Linked DNA regions of Homo sapiens: region 2 is linked to region 1. The links are contacts of gene promoters, found by promoter capture Hi-C in blood cells and fetal thymus (Javierre and others, 2016). All regions are on one chromosome and are shown on one strand. Each heading gives the region's core, a stretch centred on a gene start or on the middle of the fragment in contact. The rest is flanking DNA. Distances are from core to core; before and after follow the strand shown. Region 1 holds the start of GRAMD2A (GRAM domain containing 2A). Region 2 overlaps PARP6 (poly(ADP-ribose) polymerase family member 6).

Region 1 (6,833 bases), core at 2,523-5,022:
CTTCAGCAATTGCTTCCCTCTGAAGGCCTTGCATAGAGGCCAAGCGTGAAGTGCAGGGACTTCTCTGCTGTGATGTGGCTTAAGTTTCCCTGACACCTGTTGAGTGTCCTCATAACTTCCCTTCTGGTGCCCCTCCCCAGCTCCTGAGACACAGCTGCAGCTACAAGTGTGCAGTGTCAGTGTTCAAGAAAGTGCCTGGCAGAGGGGCTTTAGAAGGGTCCCCTGCCTTCCAAAGGAGCTTTGGCAGGCAGAGCTGCTCCTGCAGCAACACTCCCATTTCCTGTTCTTGCCTGCTGAGTAGCACCTAGATTTCTAAGCCTCATCTAGATACTCAGATTTGATTCTGGGCCTTTATAGCCCAGTTGCTGGGACTGTTTCAGGAGCTAGGGGCCATGTGGGGCAGGGAGAGGGCACAAAAGTAGAGAAGCCTGATGTTGATTCCCAGGGGGCTGGTCAGCTCTGCTACTGCTCCTTGCAGATGTCAAGAGTCAGGTGCTAGTCACGTGCTGCTTGGCTTGTCACTGTCATTGGCAGCGAGAGGAATGGGTGCTGGTGACATTGGGCCAGGGCTGCCTCTCTGTGTCAGAGTTCAGGGTGTAGGAGGGGTTCTGCCAACCATGGGCTGTGTGGGGTAAGTGGGTGAGGCTGATCTTGCTGGGTCAAGGTGATCCTGAGCCCTTGGCCTGTGGAATGGGGGTAGAGGGCAAATGGTAACCTAGCATGCTGTGGGGGATATAGGATGAGGGGCTGCCCGAGCCTCGGGAGGGGTCCTAGGGAGCAGATGTTGAAGAGGCCAGAGCCCTCAGTGAGCTGGATGAGAGGGTGAGCTGTTTGAACGCCCTGAGGGTACTTCCTGGGGCCTCGTGTAATGGTCTCTTCTGTATGTCCCCCATCCCATCTCAGGTCTGCTCACCAGGTGGCCAGATACCGCCCACGTGCCCCCATCATTGCTGTGACCCGGAATCCCCAGACAGCTCGTCAGGCCCACCTGTACCGTGGCATCTTCCCTGTGCTGTGCAAGGACCCAGTCCAGGAGGCCTGGGCTGAGGACGTGGACCTCCGGGTGAACTTTGCCATGAATGTTGGTACGTGGCTGGAGCAGGGGCTAGAGCCTAGAGGAGCTTGGGGATGCTTGAGCATTGGCTTCTGTGGGACCCCGAAAGTTTGGGGAATAGAAAGGGGAACACACAGACCTTAGTGGGGCAAAAGGCCCAGCGACTGTTCCTCTCCCTTATTGGGAATGTTCATTCTGAATCTCTCATTCTCCGAAGTCCTAAGCTGAGCCAGGAGGGAAAAGGGTCCTTTGAGTTGTAGGGCTGAGCAATTCAGTTCCTCTTCTCTTCTAGTCTGGGGCTCAAAGCAAAATTGTCCATTTTTTGGCATCTGCTCATTACTGAGAGTTTTTTTTGTTTTTTGTTTTTTTTTTAAATAAAATTGGCCACAGCTCCTGTGCTGTGGGGTGGCATACACAGATTACGTACTGATGTGGCCATTGTCCCTGTATAAGGTAGGGTATCATCAGATGACAGGAAGCAGCTAGCTCTGACCCTGGGCAAGGCTTTGCACCCTCTCCAGGATAGTGAATGATGTCCAAAGGTCCCTGCCAACCCTGCCATCTGAGTGATAAGGACATTTCAGGGCCTTCCTCCTGTTTGCCTGGGCTGTGAGTTTGGTGCCACCTTGTGGTGTGAGGAAGTAGTGGTCAGCCAGCCTAGTTCAGTACTCAGGCTATGGGGCAGCTGCCCAGGTGCAAACCTGCCTGGCTTGGCTTTTACTCACCAACCTCCCTTCTCTTCCTCCAGGCAAGGCCCGAGGCTTCTTCAAGAAGGGAGATGTGGTCATTGTGCTGACCGGATGGCGCCCTGGCTCCGGCTTCACCAACACCATGCGTGTTGTTCCTGTGCCGTGATGGACCCCAGAGCCCCTCCTCCAGCCCCTGTCCCACCCCCTTCCCCCAGCCCATCCATTAGGCCAGCAACGCTTGTAGAACTCACTCTGGGCTGTAACGTGGCACTGGTAGGTTGGGACACCAGGGAAGAAGATCAACGCCTCACTGAAACATGGCTGTGTTTGCAGCCTGCTCTAGTGGGACAGCCCAGAGCCTGGCTGCCCATCATGTGGCCCCACCCAATCAAGGGAAGAAGGAGGAATGCTGGACTGGAGGCCCCTGGAGCCAGATGGCAAGAGGGTGACAGCTTCCTTTCCTGTGTGTACTCTGTCCAGTTCCTTTAGAAAAAATGGATGCCCAGAGGACTCCCAACCCTGGCTTGGGGTCAAGAAACAGCCAGCAAGAGTTAGGGGCCTTAGGGCACTGGGCTGTTGTTCCATTGAAGCCGACTCTGGCCCTGGCCCTTACTTGCTTCTCTAGCTCTCTAGGCCTCTCCAGTTTGCACCTGTCCCCACCCTCCACTCAGCTGTCCTGCAGCAAACACTCCACCCTCCACCTTCCATTTTCCCCCACTACTGCAGCACCTCCAGGCCTGTTGCTATAGAGCCTACCTGTATGTCAATAAACAACAGCTGAAGCACCTGTTTCCTCTCTTTTCTGCTGGGGAGGGGGAGGTGGTTGAACCCTGCCCTCTGAGCAGGCTGGGAATGGCTGCAGCCTCGTGCCCCGCAGTGGGAGCTATGGTGGTGTCACCTGCCATCCTGCCCACCTCCTGGTGCAGAGGCGCTGGGAAAGCAGTAGCTTACTATCTTAGGGTTACAGGTTGCCCCCTTCAGTGCTGCGGGGAGACTTTAATGGCTTACGTGAACCGAAGATGGGAAAGAGCAGGGACAAGGCCTCCCTCCCACTCTGGTAGATAAACCCAAATTGCAAAGTGGCCTTGGCCATGGTTCTTCCACTTTGGTCTTCCTGCATTAGCGTATCCCTTATGGGGGCTGTAGGAGGAGTCAGCTCTGGGCGCCTGAGACTGGGTTTGGCTCCCAGGTCCTCAGTTGTGGACCTAGGCTCCCCTTGGGACCCCTCCTGTTTGCTGGTGCCCTCCCACCATGATGCTGTAGTGCCAAAGGGCTGGGGGAGAGAGTTGGGAATGGGACCAAATCTGGCCTGCGCTTTTCCTCTCCCCTGACCACACTCCCAAGGACCAAGTGTCCTGGTGGGGATGGAAGAGGAAAGGGCCTGCAGGCCAGGCAAAAGCTCATTGTCACACTGAGCGCACGTGCCTCTGCTTCCCTGCCTTTGATTTGTGTCCACCTTCAGCCCCTTTGCAGACTCCTCCAAAAGTGTATTTCCTTGGAGAAACTGCAATGTTAACTCCGGCAAAAGTGCGTGGGAGCATCCTGGCTCCCGGGTTCGTGGTGGTGACTTGGCTGTCAGACCATGGTGTTCAATATCCCCTTTGGTGTTCCCCACTGACGGTAAAATTGAAACTTATCCGGAGCTCTATGTTGGGAAGGGTTAGGTTGGAGAGGGGCCGGAATTGGTTCCTGCAGAGGGACCCAAGCCGCAAGACTAGGACGACAGAAGCGTCCAGAGGGGACACAATACCCTCGACGTGAGGGACAGGAGGTGCCGCGCCAGGCCCTGGCCTCCGGGACCTCCCAGTCCGGGGAACCGAGCGCTAGGATCTGCTCAGAGCTTGGAGCCCCACCTGGGGAAGGTGGGGAAGGAGAGAAGCTGGGGAAGCTGGGGAATGAGGGGGAGGAACGGCCAATGGGCTGTGCCCGGCCCGCGCGACCCGCCAATGGGCGGGCGGGCGGGGCGGGCTCTCGACGGGGCGGGCGGGGTCCGGCGGGCGCTGGGTCCCGGCGCGCGGTCGGGGCGCTGGGTGCAGGCGCCGGGATGACCGCTTTAAGCCGGAGCGAGGCCACCGAGGAGGGCGGGTAAGGGGTTGCGGCCCGGGGGCCGGTCTCGGGGGTTCCGGAGGCCGCCGCGAGGGGCTGCTGCCGCGCGGGGCAGGACGGCTCCTGGGGCCGCGGCAACTCGGCGCGTTCTGCCCACGGGGCAGGCACTTCCCGGCCGCCGGAATGCGGGCTCCGGGCCAGAGCTGCACCGCGCGCCCAGGCGTCTCCCGGGGCCCGCGAGGTGTTCGCACTAGGACCGGGTGTCTTGGCTGAGTCTGCTGCGACCTGGGGGATGAGGGACGGTCCCGGCAGCATCGGGGCAAGGAAGGGCACCCTCCTCGGGACGCCCCGCATGGCCCATCTCCGCCTCGCCACTCTGTTCATCCTTTCATTTATTCATTCATCATTCGTTGCCCGCGGTATCGACTCCCAGTCCTAATTGCCCCCGACCCAAAGGTTGGATTTCCCTGCGTCCCCTGGAGGGCCAGACTGTTTCCTCTCGCCGCCGAATCCGTATTGTAGCGGCCCGCGGCTGCGGGGAGGCAGCTCGGAGCTGTCTCAGCACGACGCGGCCTCCCCCGGGCGCCAGGCCCATCCCGGTCGGGCGGGCTGGGGCCGGTCTCCCGGCCTCGAGACCTGGTCCAAAGTCGCCCTGGGAGAAAGGGATAAGGAGGCAGGGCAGACAGGAGCTGGCGCTGCACGTAACATCCAGAATTGTGGTTTCTGCTGCTTGAGGTCTTAGGGTCCTGGGAGTGACATTGTTTGGGGGAACCTGTCAATTCCTGCCCCGGTCCAGGTTCCAAGCCGCACAGCCTAAGGTCGGGTACAGCCTGGCATCCTCGGCCAGCTAGCACTGGGGCAGGTAGGATGAATGTGTGAGCCTTGTGTCCAAATCAGCCCGAGACACACAGGGATGTGGACCCCAGCGGGACTCCCTCTGCCTTATACTCAGAGGGACTGGTGGGGCTCCACCCCGCTGTCGTCTGTGTCTCTGCTCTGCTTGCCGCCCCACTCACTATGCTTGATTGTTTAAAGGTGCCCCTCCTTGCAGGGGCCAGGCTCCTAGGGAACGAGAGAGGGTACCCTCGCAACCTGATGTCTTCACCCCATGTCCACCTGTAGCCGGCTCTAAAGTCTGGCTCCTTTCAGAGCAAAGACTTATGGCCTTGCTGGGAGAGGTAGAATAGAGGGTGTCTATCCCATTCTTCAGTGAGGAGTCAGTATGCCCCTCCTTCTTTTTTCTTTTTTTTTTTTCTGAGACAGTTTCACTCTGTCACCCAGGCTGGAGTGCCGTGGTGGGATCTTGGCTCACTGCAACCTCTGCCTCCCAGGTTCAAGTGATCCTCCTGCCTCAGCCTCCCGAGTAGCTGGGATTACAGGTGCCCACCACCACGCCCAGCTAATTTTTGTATTTTTAGTAGAGATGGGGTTTCACCATGTTGGCCAGGCTGGTCTTGAACTCCTGACCTCAGGTGATCCACCCACCTCAGCCTCCCAAAGTGCTAGCATTACAGGGACTACAGGTGTGAGCCACGTGCCTGGCCCCCTCCATAGTCTTCTGATCAGGCTGGCTGGAGACCATGCTGCAGACACTCTTAGGTTTAAGTTTTAGTTTGACAGGCATTGAGGTAGCCTCAGTGGGCACCTCTGGGACAAATGGGCAGGTCCAGAGGGGAAAGCTGACAGAGGCCCCATCGAGCTTCCAGGAGAGTTTAGGCTGGGGCCAAATAGAAGTTCTCCTTCCCAACTTCCCCTTGGGAGAATTTTCTGAATAGCCTGAAGAGGGTAGCTCAAGCTCCATCTGTGCCTTGATGTTGCTGGCTGCTTTCAAATTTCTTTCTTTTTTTTTGAGACGGAGTTTTGCTCTTGTTACCCAGGCTGGAGTGCAATGGCGTGATCTCGGCTCACTGCAGTCTCCGCCTCCTGGGTTCAAGTGATTCTCCTGCCTCAGCCTCCCGAGTAGGTGGGATTACAGGCATGCGCCACCACACCCGGCTAATTTTGTATTTTTTAGTAGAGACGGGGTTTCTCCATGTTGGTCAGGCTGGTCTCCAACTCTCGACCTCAGGTGAGCTGCTCACCTCAGCCTCTCAAAGTGCTGGGATTACAGGTGTGAGCCACTGCACCTGGCCTCAAATTTCTAAATTTAGCAAGGCCCCAAAGCTTTGGCACAGACCAGAGAGACTTGTATGCTAATTCATCCACCTAGGGTGCTCCCGTGACCCCCTGAGGTTGAGGTCGGCAGTACCCAAGGTGGGTTGCTGCCAGCTGGCCTCTTGGAAGCTCTCCCATGAGCTGCTGCGCTGTTAGTGCCTCCTGGGTGGCTCCACCCCGCCCCTAACCTGCTTAGGTTCGCTCTGGTCCTTGCCTGCCACGGACCATGTTTATCAGCTGGAGGGAAGAGCCTCACTCTGGAATCAGAAGTGAGTTCTAAGCCTCAGGCTGTTCCTGTTTTGCTGCGACTTGGGACAAGTCACTTCCGCTTTCTGGGCCTGCTTTACACCATAAGGTAAGGAGATTGGACTGTAGGTTCCCTAAAGGCCTTCTGCATGCAGTCATCCAGTGATTCTCCTAACTAGACACTTCTAGCAGCTTCAGGGGAAGTTTGTCTACACTCATGCTACAGTATTTTCAGCAAATGTGATTGGACAAGTGGGCCTGTGCCTTATCTTTTGGTGGAGTGAAAAAATTTGGGCCAGTGAAGCCAAATCCTTACAGCAAGCAGCATGCAGCATACCTGGCTCTTTGCTGATTGCAAATAGGCATTTAAAGTATGAATTTGAGCCGGGCGCGGCGGCTCACACCTCTAATCCCAGCACTTTGGGAGGCTGAGACAGGTGGATCCCCTGAGGTCAGGAGTTCAAGACCAGCCTGGCCAACATGGTAAAACCCCATCTCTACTAAAAATACAAAAATGAGTTAGGTGTGGTGGTGTGTGCCTGTAATCCCAGCTACCTGGGAGGTTGAGGCTGGAGAATCTCTGGAACCTGGGAGGCAGAGGCTGTAGTGAGCTGAGATCACGCAACTGCATTCCAGCCCGGGCG
Region 2 (6,694 bases), core at 2,131-4,630, 69 kb before region 1:
CCTGGCTTAGTTACCAGACTTAAGTTGGTATCTAAGGAATGAACCACAGGTCCTTAGAACACACAAGGATCTAGAACTAGAACAGTGGTTCTCAAATTTTATGCATCAGAACAACTTGGAGCGTGTGTTAAAACACAGATTACTGGGTCCAATTTCTGGAATTTCTTTTTTTCTTTTTCTTTTTTTTTTTTTTTTTTTGAGACAGAGTTTTGCTGTTGCCCCCCAGGCTGGAGTGCAATGGCGCAGTCTTGGCTCACTGCAACCTCTGCCTCCGTAGGTCAAGTGATTCTCCTGCCTCAGCCTCCTGAGTAGCTGGGATTACAGGCGTGCACCACCATGCCTTGCTAATGTTTTTATTTTAGTGGAGAAGGAGTTTCACCATGTTGGCCATGCTGGTCTCGAACTCCTGACCTCAGGTGTCCTGCCCACCTGGGCCTCACAAAGTGCTAGGATTACAGGCATGAGCCTCAGTGCCTGGCCATTTCTGGAGTTTCTAATTCAGTAGGTCTTAGGAGGAGTCTGAGAATTTGCATTTCTAACAAGTTCCTAGATGATACTGATGCTGTAGGTCCACCAACCCCAGTCAGAGAATCACTAATCTGGAAACCTGACATTCAGTAGAACTGTATTAGAGACCTGCCAGGCACAGTGGCTCACATCTGTAATCCCAACACTTTGGGAGGCCGAGGCGGGTGGATCACCTGAGGTCAGGAGTTCGAGACCAGCCTGGCCAACCTGGTGAAACCCCGTCTCTACTAAAAATACAAAAATTAGCTGGGCATGGTGGCGGGCGCCTATAATCCCAGCTACGTGGGAGGCTGAGACAGGAGAATTGCTTGAACCCGGGAGGCAGAGGTTGCAGTGAGCCGAGATCGCACCATTGCACTCCAGCCTGGGCGACACAGCGAAACTCTGTCAGAAAACAAAAAAAGAAGAAGAAGAAGAACTGTGTTAGAGACCAAGAACACCTCTGTTTGAGGTTGGAGTAGCTTCAGCTGCGATGTGTGCAAAGCCAGTGACTTGCTGGTCTAGAGAGCAACAGAAAGCTTTTTTAGCCTGCTTTTAGGGTAGATTTGCCATCTTCAGCCATTAAAGCCTTCATAATTTCACAGATGAGTTTTTTGTTTTGTTTTGTTTTTCTGCTATATGTGGAGGTTTTAATGGAGCTAAAAGTTGCTGGTATAGGATTAGGAGTCTGTGGGATTAGAAGCGAGCAGGGAATTGTGTATGAAAGGGCTCTGGGTTAAGTAAAAGTTTTTCTAAGCAATTTTTGGGATAATTATTGCATTTTTCTTTGGGAAGCAGGTTCCAAGATGACTTTAGGGCATTATTTTGGCAATGACAACTGAGACCATAACTGCCAAAAGATGTTCAGTGTTGTTGAGGACTTTTTATTTTGAGATGGAGTTTTTGCTCTTACTGTCCAGGCTGGAGTGCAGTGGCGTGATCTAGGCTCACTGCAATCTCCGCCTCCCGGATTCAAGCGATTCTCCTGCCTCAGCCTCCTGAGTAGCTGGGATCGTAAGCGCACGCCACCACACCCAGCTAAGTTTGTATTTTTGGTAGAGACGGGGTTTCACCCCATTGGTCAGGCTGGTCTTGAACTCCTGACCTCAGGTGATCTGGCCGTTGAGGACTTTTTAAGTTAGCTATTGTTGCCGTATAATAGCTAGTAATACTGATGTTTAAAGAGAGATACTGGCTAATATGGAGAAATAACTAAGAATAAAGAGTCCAGAAATAATCCGATTCTGAATCTTAACTCTGGTGTGAGTTGGTACTCTGAAGAATTAACTGACAGAGTAAACATAAGCATCTTGTCCTGCCACCATCACTTTTGGCTTTAGGAGTTGTAACATTATGAGCTAGAGCAGGATCTTGCTCTAATCCCAGCTCTCCAGTTTAAGTAGAACAGCAGTATCTTGCATATAGTGCTTTTGTGTTTCATTATCTATAAAGAACTGCATGTGCAAGTGTGCATGTATATGCACGCAAGCATGTCTTTTTATATGCAAGTATCTGTATGTATAATAAAAGTGTATTAATAGCCAGGTGCAATGGCTCACGCCTGTATTCCCAGCAATTTGGGAGGCCGAGGCCGGTAGGTCACCTGAAGTCGGGAGTTCGAGACCAGCCTGGCCAATGTGGTGAAACCCCATCTCTACTGAAAATATTAAAATTAGCTGGGCGTGGCAGCAGGCACCTGTAATTCCAGCTACTTGGGAGGCTGAGGCATGAGAATTACTTGAACCCAGGAGGCGGAGGTTGCAGTGAGCCAAGATCGCGCCATTGCACTCCAGCCTGGGCGACAAGAGCGAAACTCTGTCTCAAAAAAAAAAAGTGTATTGATAAATACGTGTGCCTGTATATATACACCACCCAGCTATTAAGTGGTGATGAAACCCATTATTATCTACTTTCCACAGGACAGTGACTTGTTACCACCGCAACAGCAGAGCCTGCCATCCCCAACAGATCACCAGTTGTCCCTGACATCGTGCCCTACCTTGTCTCCCTTTGTGGTCTCCTAAATGCCCATCTCGTTGGCCTTGGTTCGGCTAGTGGTATGGAGGGGTGCTGCCTAGCACTGACCTGAGAGTGTGTGTGACCCACTGACCCAATGGTGAGAACTGACTGCCCACCTCTCCAACTGATTGTTCAAAGGGTAGAGGAGACAAAGTGCAGATCTCACCCTTTCTTGGTATTTTCCCTTCTACCCTTTTGGAAGATAGAGTGGCTATTTGAAGTTAAAGGAAAGGGAAGGGGCACAGAAACAGTATTACTTGGTGTGTTTGTGTAGTGGGTTTTCTTGGGGAGGGAGAGGAGAGTTAAGTACTTTAAAGGATAGAAAGAAAATAATGAGACAAGAGAGTTTAGGTGTGCTTGGGAACTGTCTTAGGTAATGATCCTGGAAGAGGCCAGCTTGTACTGGAACCCAGATATGCTTAGGAGTCAACCTTGACATTGAAGTCATTTGCATTTCTTTCCTACTGGCTACCAGAGCCTCTCAGTCATCATACTGAGACTTCAGAAGGCCAAAATTCCCTAGATGTTTTCCTCTGTCCCACTAAGAGCTAGTTTATGGATATGATCATATCAGGAAGAGACTGAGACTCTCACAAAGGGTGACATGAAAGGTGTAAAGGGATCAGGGCTTCAGTTATTCTATATTTCCCAATCTTTGTGGGAATCTGTTCCTCACCATATCATCCCACGCCTTTCCATGGGATAATAGGGACCTAACAAAGCATGATATCCTTATTTCTCACCACTAGGACATCAAAGGCCAGTTCTGGAATGATGACGACTCGGAGGGAGATAATGAATCAGAGGAATTTCTCTATGGCGTTCAGGTGAGGTTACATCTCCCAAGACCCCCGTGTTGGATGGTCTAGATATGTGCTGCTTTTTGGATACATCAGGAGTGAAAGAGGTTCTGGAGCACAGATGAGATGAGGTTATAATGTTGATGTGGTCTGAGCATGGTCTTGTCAGAGCTGATCCCGTGCCCTTGCTCTTTCTTTGGAGTCATACCTGTTCCAGAGTAAACTACATCCTCTGTATGTGGAGACTACCCATATCTTAATTAGACATAATTATTTTCTGACTTTTATAACACTAGCCAGTGGGGGTAGTTTCATTCATTAGGGTCACATCTTAAAAGATTACTCTGCCAGCGTTTGCTTAATGCCATCACTACCCAGGGCACAGTCCTGAGCAGAAGTACCCAGACTCTCAGAATGCTCTTCACTTAGAACCAATCTTAGGAAACCTGTAACTCTTCAGCCTGTTCTGAGTTGTCATAGAAGGTATCCTGGTCAAGGTCTGAGAGAAAAGCTGGAGATTTAAGGAAGTGAACTCCAAGCAAAAGCCTACATTTGGTCTGCTGAACCTTTTTAAAGTCATGATGAGATGGAGACCTCTGTTAATGAAATCCCTTGCTAGGGTCACCACTGAGAACCCCTTCACATAAGTGGCTTTTACTTCCCCTATACTGCTGTCTGATTTCTCCTGTTCCTGGTGTCTTTTCATATTCTTTTTATTATCTCTCTCTTTCCCTCGTCTTTTTCCACCTCTCTCCACCACCATTTTTGCTGCTATCTCAGGGGAGCTGTGCAGCTGACCTGTATCGACACCCACAGCTTGATGCAGACATTGAAGCCGTGAAGGAGATCTACAGTGAGAACTCTGTATCCATCAGGTGGGACTCTACTTCAGGGGTGGCAGGGGAGCAAGTCACTTCTTTCTGAGTTGTTAAAAGGCTAGAGGTTTTTCTTTTTATGGTATGATAGTGGGATAAATTATGAACTTAATGATAGAAAATGCTCAGAATAAATGAGCTTGGCTGAGAGTAGAGAGTAAGGCCACTTTTCTTAGGAATTCCCTCTTATCCTAGACCCCTCTGGGCCAGTAGTTTCACCTTTCAGGTAAGAAATGCTTTTGGCCTGGAAGTAGATCCTGATCAGGTAAGTGGTGTAAGGCTATAGCTAAGACCCTAGGTACAAAACTGTCATCCACTCTTCCCTTTCCCCTGTCCCCAGGCTCAGTTCTCTTTCCAACTCAGTTTCTATTCCCTTCTTTCTCCCTTAATGAGTCTCACCTGTTGTCACCTGTATCTCTATAGAGAATATGGAACTATCGATGACGTGGACATTGACCTCCACATCAACATCAGCTTCCTCGATGTAAGTGGGGCTAGTACCTGCCAACAACATGTCTAGCTGGACTTGTGGAATTTGTCATGTAGGCCAGGAGTCTTGTTCCCGAGTGCTGTATTTGGAGCACATATTCTTCATCTCTGTCTTTCCTAGACCATCAGCAGACAGTGGTGTGTACTGTCATGTGCATGTGTGTGTCATATAGGGGAAATTTCAGGTCCATTCGTCTATGTTGCTAAACTGGAAACTATTTCCCTTCTTCTTTTAGGAGGAAGTCTCTACAGCCTGGAAGGTCCTCCGGACAGAACCTATTGTGTTGAGGCTGCGATTTTCTCTCTCCCAGTACCTAGATGGACCAGGTAAAGGCAGTGACTTTGGGCAAGTGGGTGGTCTGAGTGTGGTCTAATCCAAAGCCCTAAGTTAACTGAGGTAGAAAAAAATTAGGAACAAGGTCCTTGGGCTCAATCTGCAGGCTATTGGTAGGGGCTTTTTAGTCCCCTGTAATTGGTATCTTCATCCCCTGTCACCTAATAACCATTCCCTAAAGGCCTTCTTGCCTAATGACATTGTTTTCTCTGGTTCCAAGATAAAATTTCTTTCTCCTCCTTTTCTCAACATCCTCCTGAGGATATTTCAGATTCATATGACAGCTTCGAGAATCTGCCCTCTCCCTCAGATGTTTTTTTTCTTCCACCGTTACTGTTTAGAGTACCCAGCAGCTATGATCTTTAGAATGTATGGAAGCTATTCCACTGAGCTTTGGACTCCAGGAAGACAAGAGATATGTACTTACTAGTAGCCTTCTCTTCTCTTTGCAGAACCATCCATTGAGGTTTTCCAGCCATCAAATAAGGAAGGATTTGGGCTGGGTCTTCAGTTGAAAAAGTAAGAACTTTGGTCTTTTCTGGTCATGGACATGTGAAGGAAGGAGAGAGAGGTGGAAATATATGGATGGACAGGCAGAGCCTTGGATGGAATGCCCCCTTCCAAAAATGTCTTTCTGAAATATGCCCAGGAAAAGCTAAAATAAATTTAGGGAGCCAGATTTAAGCTTGTGGAGAGAGAGTATGTGGTTCTTGGGTGTCAGAAGCTGAGACTTTCTAGAGATAAAAGAGGCTCATCACTACTTAGCATTTTTACTACCCTGAAATCAGAGTCATGCTATTCATATTTCTCTAGTGGTTTCTTCAGAGTAAGTCTCTAGGAACTCTAGTTTATTGAATGTGTTGAGCATTAAGCTAGGTATTTGGTATGCAAAGAAATGAAGCATATTTTCCACTCTCAGTGAAGTTTCAAATAGAGTCCACTGGATACATATTCTAATACAGGTGAATATGTAAGGTTTAGAAAGGACACTGAAGAGTGACTCAGTCTGTTGAAAGGGTGATGATTAATAATTTCCTTTTTTTTTTTTTTTTGGAGACAGAGTCTTGCTCTCACCCAGGCTGGAGTGCAGTGGCATGATCTTGGCTCACTGCAACTTCTGCCTCCTGAGTTCAAGTGATTCCTGTGCCTCAGCCTCCTAAGTAGCTGGGATTACAGTCACCCACCACCATGCCCGGCTAATTTTTGTATTTTTAGTAGAGATGGGGGTTTCTCCATGTTGGCCAGGTTGGTCCCAAACTCCTGGCCTCAAGTGATCCACCTGCCTCAGCCTCCCAAAGTGCTGAGATTACAGGTGTGAGCCACCGCACCCAGCCAATGATTAGTAATTTTCAAGGATGGATAAGAGTTGTCCATGTAGACAGATTCTGAGGGTGAATAACATTTGCAGGGGCTTAGTCACATAAAGCAGTATATGTGTAGGGAGCTTCAGGTAGTTAAATATTGCTGGTAAAATACAAGCTGGGGGTGTAGGAGCCAAAGCCAGAGAATAGGGAAGGGTTCAAGTTAGAGAGGATCTTGGACTTTTATCCTTTAGGCAGTGTGAACATTGAAGGGTTTAGGGAAAGAAATGACGTGGTCAGATTTATTTTTAAAAACCATTCTGGTAGCATTATACAAAATGGGTAGGAGGGGATGAGACAAGAGACCAG

What was found. The method cuts DNA at HindIII sites, captures the fragments that hold promoters and counts their contacts. A CHiCAGO score of 5 or more calls a contact.
Region 2: a fragment that was not itself captured here is called in contact with the fragment with the promoter of GRAMD2A in region 1 in 2 of 17 cell types (monocytes and megakaryocytes); the score reaches 5.9 in monocytes.

Annotation. Positions count from the first base shown.
Region 1 is chr15:72,194,726-72,201,558 of GRCh38, reverse strand. GRAMD2A (GRAM domain containing 2A) reads left to right here and starts at 3,772. Exons shown (of 12, transcript NM_001012642.3): 1 at 3,772-3,828. The coding sequence starts at 3,788. It overlaps PKM (pyruvate kinase M1/2), which reads left to right. Exons shown (of 11, transcript NM_002654.6): 10 at 904-1,085; 11 at 1,803-2,530. The coding sequence ends at 1,909. RefSeq lists a silencer at 3,625-4,044 and an enhancer at 4,155-4,334. The HindIII fragment of the contact is 8,362 bases long and covers 1-5,954 here.
Region 2 is chr15:72,263,404-72,270,097 of GRCh38, reverse strand. PARP6 (poly(ADP-ribose) polymerase family member 6) reads left to right here. Exons shown (of 24, transcript NM_001323532.2): 3 at 2,427-2,623; 4 at 3,276-3,353; 5 at 4,107-4,201; 6 at 4,625-4,685; 7 at 4,927-5,017; 8 at 5,477-5,543. The coding sequence starts at 2,621. Among named protein-coding and RNA genes, the nearest start is that of PARP6, 5.8 kb to the left of the region's middle. The HindIII fragment of the contact is 4,663 bases long and covers 1,049-5,711 here.